Linked DNA regions of Homo sapiens: region 2 is linked to region 1. Evidence: promoter capture Hi-C in human tissues and cell types (Jung and others, 2019). All regions are on one chromosome and are shown on one strand. The core of a region is centred on a gene start or on the middle of the fragment in contact, and the rest is flanking DNA. Distances in the headings are between cores, read along the strand shown.

Region 1 (2,734 bases), core at 217-2,716:
TGTTTATCTAACTCCCTCCTCCACCCTACAAGTAGCAAATTGCCTTCCTTTTAATCATCTACTAGTTACTTCACTATCCCTGATCTAGAAAGAAAGGGAGAGAGAAAGAAAAGAAGAGAAAAGAAAAATCATTCCTCCCAGCAAATCAGACTGGTTTAAAATCTCTCTTCTTTCTCAAGGTACTCTTGTTAGGAGAATCTATTCAAGCCAATTCCCAGGAGCCTTTATGAGAGAGATCTTTGCAGAGGAATTTGTCTTCTTCTTTAACACCATTAAACTAATAGGATTTTGCAGACTACCTATTCCCCAATCCCGGCGCCCCCAAACAACAGCCAAGCATCCCGCCCCTCCTCCTCTCACCCCTCCAACAACAAGGCTGTTCGTCTCTCAGTGCTAATTCCTGCAACTGTGTCACTGTCAGGGTGGTACCTGAACCTTAGAGAGAGAGAGAGAGAGAAAGAGAGAGAAACTGAGAGAGGGAATCAGAAAAGCCACCACCGTGAGAAATATACACTTCAACGCACGCCATTTATGCAGCCCCTATGTATGTTGCTCAAATGCTCGGAAAATGCACGCAAATCCAAACGTTGGAAGAGGCAGCAATTCAGACCCGTTCACCGGCTGTTCCCAAAAGAAGGGAACCGGTGCGGCTGGGAGGAGGCGAAACGATGCTAAATCTTAACCCCCCTCTCGTTGGGAAACGACATCTTTAATCGCGCCCTCGCCTCCAGACCTCGGTTCCCGCTCCAGCACGTTAAGCAGGGCGCACTCACCGCATCCCCGGGTTTGGGAAAATAACAACTGTTGGCCCCCCGGAGCGCCGCGCAGCATCCGCACCTCCCTTCTCCCACCTCCTGGTTTATTTTTAACCGCCTTCCATTCATGCCCTTCTGTCACATTCCCGATATTATTTATCCCTCAAATGTCCACTGTTTCTTAACAGCCAAAATAAGAAGGTAGAGGAAAGATACAAAAAAAAAAAAAAAAAAAAAAAGGTATCATACTTACCGTTCCCCGGCGGGGCGAAAAATAAAAATAAAGAAAATCCACCGGCTGGCTTGTTTTTCCCCCTCAAGCTGCAACAGCTGGAGGAGGGGAAGAATGATCCTGGGTGGGGGGCGGGGGGTGGTAAAAGGAATCACTCGGGTTTGGCAGGTGGAGGCTCCAAATATCCACGGAACAAGTTCTGTTGCCTGGCCCGAGGGGTGCACAGAGTCCTCGCGGCTGGAGCCTGGGGGTGGGGGTTGGGGCTGCCCCAGAGAAGACCCCAAGACTCCTGGTTCCTCTGGAGTTCAGCACAGGAGGGATTGCCTGGGAAAGGAAGTCAAGGTTCCCCCGAAAAGAAACAAAATCCTAGACAGCAGCGATCACTTGTTAAGCCCGAATTCCTCCTCCAACATCCATCCCTCTCTCGCTCTCGCTGGCTGCGGGAGCAGCACACGCCTCCCCTGGCCGCGAACGCGCTCTGGGCGGGGGCGGGGCCAGGGCCGAACCGAGGGTGTGGCGTTCGCGACGGTCGCCAGGGGCGCCTCCCGGCGCGGCGGGGCGGGTGCAGTCACGACGCCGCGACTCCCCGCACCCCGGCTGGGCCCCCCGACTCCCAGGATCTGGGATCGATTCCAGGAGTCTTTGGCTGTGGTCCCCACAGGCGAGGAGCAAATCCTGGAGAAGTGTCCCCGTTGGGGCCGGAATAGGGGTTTCGACGGCAGCGCGGGAGTCCCCAGAGGGCTTGGGAGCGGGGAGCTCCAATGGGAGGTGCAGTCCCGAAAATGGGGTCCTCTGGGACATCTCCTCTACCTAACTTGCTTTCTCTATATCTCCCCTCGAGCCCCGAGCCCCGTCTTCTTTTCCCCACCCCATCCCCTCCCAAAGCGGGTTTGTTGGGTTGGGAGCCGGGTGCATCTCCGGCGAGGCCACGGGCGGGGAGCCCTCCTGTGCCTGCCAGAGCGCCCAGATCCCTCAGTCTCCGTCTCCTTTGCACACAGGAGTTGGGAGGCTTCAGCGCCGGGGTTGGGCCTCAGGGGCGCGGAGGAGACCGACTTTCAACCTGTATTCAATCCCGGGCAGGGGAATGTTACAGAAATTGGAATCAGGCCCAGGCTAGGGGCTGCGCACAGGAGGCAGCAGTTCTAGGGGAGGAGGGTTGGAGAGATGAGTAAGTTGCAGGGTGGGCCAGGGGCTGAGGGCTTTGGAAGGCGGGGGAAGAGCCCGCAGCCAACCTGTTGCTGCAAAAACAAATACGGCTCTGGTATCGACTCCCTGAGGGCTCTTTGGATCCTTCAGGACAGAAATCAAGGGATATCGCAGCAAAAAGCAAGTTTTTTTGGTTTTCTTTCTTTCTTTCTTTTAATTAAAGCTTGTGCGCACAAGGGAGCTAACACCAAGAAAAAAAAAAGTGGGCTGTTCCTCGAAGTCAGGGTGTGGGTTTCTTTTACGGGCCTCTCCCGTAAGGGGAAATAAGGAGAACTATAGACAGGGCATGTAGAGGTGGAGTTTTTCTGGTGCATGCATGGTGGTTTAACATGCTTCTTCATAGGACGTATGTATCATTAGCATCTTAAATCTCCACCTCTGGGAAAGATTTTTTGCATTAAATTAAGGAAAAGGTCACTATGAGTTGAAAGTTAAACCTAGCCGCCGCGCATGCCAGGGCCTCGGGCAAGTCCCTGGTCCCCTAAAGCCGAAACTTCTGGTTAATAGCTTCTTGAGCTTTTCATGCTAATTGGCTGGAGTT
Region 2 (3,006 bases), core at 414-2,913, 77 kb before region 1:
ATGTTGTTTTAATGTGATTTTCTGAATTGAATTAATTGTTAACTTGTTACAGTGTGAAGACTATTAAAAAAAAAAAAAAAAAAAAAAACTAGGATTTTATCTGTTTCCATTTCCTACTACTGGGTGTTACTGTTCCCTGAGGAAAATAGCCACCAAGGCATCAAAGCTTTCACGGGCAACAACAGAAAAACTTATTACCAAGTTTTGCCATCAGACCAAAATGCCAAGTTACACACGATTGTCTGCCTCTTTCTCTACCAGAAAGAAAACAAACAAACTCAGGGCTTGATATAATGCTAAATCTTTTCATGACATCAAAGGTTCCATTTTAGATTAATTTTCTTCCTACATTTGAAGATTATACATTATGTATAATTTATTTTATAATTTATAATAAAAAATAACATACATAAAATTCTAGAAAACTTAAAAGATGGTTACAGAAGCTCCAACCATTTCTATCTGGAGAAACTTAACTTCGCATACTACAAAAAAAAAATCTCTTTTACAAACCATCCACCCCCTCCCCCACATAAATATATAACTTCTCGTCTAATTGCCACATCATTTTAAAATTTTAATACATTTTCATTCCAAATTAAATTTTAACTGTAAGCACTGGATGTGGAAAGCCCCTGTGTAAGTTGTAGTGAGAGATTTAGATCTGAACATGGGCTTTACCTGCAAAGAGCTAAATGTAAAAATAGAGTGATAAAAAAGAATCTCTAAAACTCATATCTTAGAATTATATCCCTTTGTTGATCGAACCCCCCAATGGAGAAACTACCCATATTATATACAGAAAGTAGCTTCTGGGAAAAACAGAAAGGTTAAGTCAATTTTATCATCCTTATAAATGATAAAGTTATATATATATATATGTATATGTGTATATATATATGTATATGTGTGTGTGTGTGTGTGTGTATATATATATATATATATATATATATTGAATACCAACCAAGGGCAGACTAAATATATTCTATTACATTTTCCTGCAGAATTTCCATTAAAAGTACAAGAGAAAATGTATCTATCCACAAAGGAATCTAGCAGTAAAGGAAAAATGCAGTACCTTTGTGTAGAACACAGGGTCTTGAAATATCTGACCCCCATATTTTTGATCTCATAAAGCAGGAAAATGTTGAGGACAGGAGAATTCCTGCTGAGAACAAGAGAGCGACAGAGAGTTCTCTACTCACACAGTTTGGGTGGACTCTTCTCAGGAGCCAGGAGGTCTTCTACTGCAATGATCTAACCTCTGCTGGCCCCCTAACCACTGACTCACTTATCCACAACAATAATTGATTTCTCTACTATAAATGCAGCTAAAGGAAAAGACAGGAAAGGAGTTTTTAAGTTCATTTTAAGTAAATATTTCCAAAGAGAAAAGTGAAGTATAAAGTCTATTTCCTCCCCTACCTCTTTCTCTCTGTCCCCTCTCCCCTTCTCTTTCTCTCTATCAGTCTCAGACACAAAAGCTCAGATACTATTTCACATGTTTTTTCTCTGAAGCCAAATAATTTAAGAGCCATGTGCAGCCACACAGAGAGTCATAAAGGTGATAATGATGATATCTTCCTATAAGTCATGTAGGTTTGAAGCTTCCACAGCCCTTTAGAAGCTCACTGAAACACTGATTGAATGGAATGTGTATGTGACTAAAGAGAGAATCACAGGTTTGGTAGTTAAGTGGATTCTCAAATCAGGACAAGGGGAGACTTACATTTCGGCCATCATACTTAACAGTCATGTGCACTTGGGCTAGTTCTTTATCTTCTATAAGCTTTCATTCTCTCTCTTTTAGGTGAAGTGAGGACAATTATACTTACCTTATAGCATTATTGCAAGGTATGCTGCAGACAGTGGTATCACAGCATCTAGAGCCCCATATCTATAATGTAATAACTGCTCAATAAATGTTTTTTTTTAAAGAAACAAGCAAATGCAATATAAGGAAGATTTCTTAAATCTGCTGATATCCTTTTTCTGCTTTGGCAAGTAGATATTGGTGGCTGAGGGTCACAGTGACTTTTCAGCATCAACCTAAGTCAGAGCTGCAGGTTTAGAAGGATTCAATACCAGACTGAATATCTGCCCCAGAACCTGTTTTTTTCCCCCTTCGTTCTTTCCTTCCTTACTTCTTTTATAAAAATCTACATTGAGTAACAACTGTGGTTATATTGTGCTACAGGTTTATGATAGAGAAATAATAATACAGTTAATATTTCAGAGAAGTCCCGGTCTAGCTGGGAAAAGGGAGAAGTCAAATGGTAGTCATAAAATAGGAAATCAGTGTTAGGACAGGTATGTTCTAAGGTGTTTTAAAACATCAAAGGGAGGTCAGCTGAATTGGATCGGGAGATTGAGGGACAGTCTTTGCAACGATGATGATTAAGAAGACCCCAGCCAAAACACATGGACATTCAAAGCTTCTGCCTATACAACACATAACACACTCAGCATAAAATGAGCCTTAAGGCCACGTGTATGTGAGGAACTACTTTCTGGTTTGGCTCAGAATCTTCACTATCAGATTGTCAGGTCAGTACTCCCAGTACTTCAGGTAGCTAAGTATAAAAATGCATGAAAAAGTTATTTAATTCAGAGATTTATGAAGTCCACAAAAGGTTTTGTTGAGAATGACTGTGTTCTCGCTGTGAAATAAGAATGACCTACATTTTACTAGAGAGCTGAAAAAGAAAAACTCATAAAACAAGCTACAAAAGATTTACAGTGTGATCCTGTCAAATTTCACCTCTCTCTTCTCTAAGGAACTAATGAAAATGCTTAGCAGACCAATGTTTCAGCAAGGTTTCCATTTTTCTTCTAGTATGGTCCACATTTTTCTGTTCCACTCTGTTCCTTATTTGCCAGCCTAAGCTGGTGTTACTTTCTTGAATTGGGGTTGTTACTACTATATGATTTTTCAATCTCTATGAATGTGACAGCATTTACTTAGTTTATTATATTTGCAGAAACTAGAACTATTATGTGCTTAGG

The links. Contacts are between HindIII fragments. The study calls those that stand out against the background at their distance.
Region 2: a contact is called between a fragment that was not itself captured here and the fragment with the promoter of KCNA4 in region 1, in 4 of the 25 tissues and cell types used here (H1 embryonic stem cells, dorsolateral prefrontal cortex, liver and 1 more).

What each region holds. Positions count from the first base shown.
Region 1 is chr11:30,015,564-30,018,297 of GRCh38, forward strand. It overlaps KCNA4 (potassium voltage-gated channel subfamily A member 4), which reads right to left and starts at 1,467. Exons shown (of 2, transcript NM_002233.4): 1 at 1,009-1,467. The HindIII fragment of the contact is 10,149 bases long and covers 1-2,734 here.
Region 2 is chr11:29,938,092-29,941,097 of GRCh38, forward strand. No RefSeq gene overlaps it. Among named protein-coding and RNA genes, the nearest start is that of LINC01616, 43 kb to the right of the region's middle. The HindIII fragment of the contact is 4,260 bases long and covers 1-3,006 here.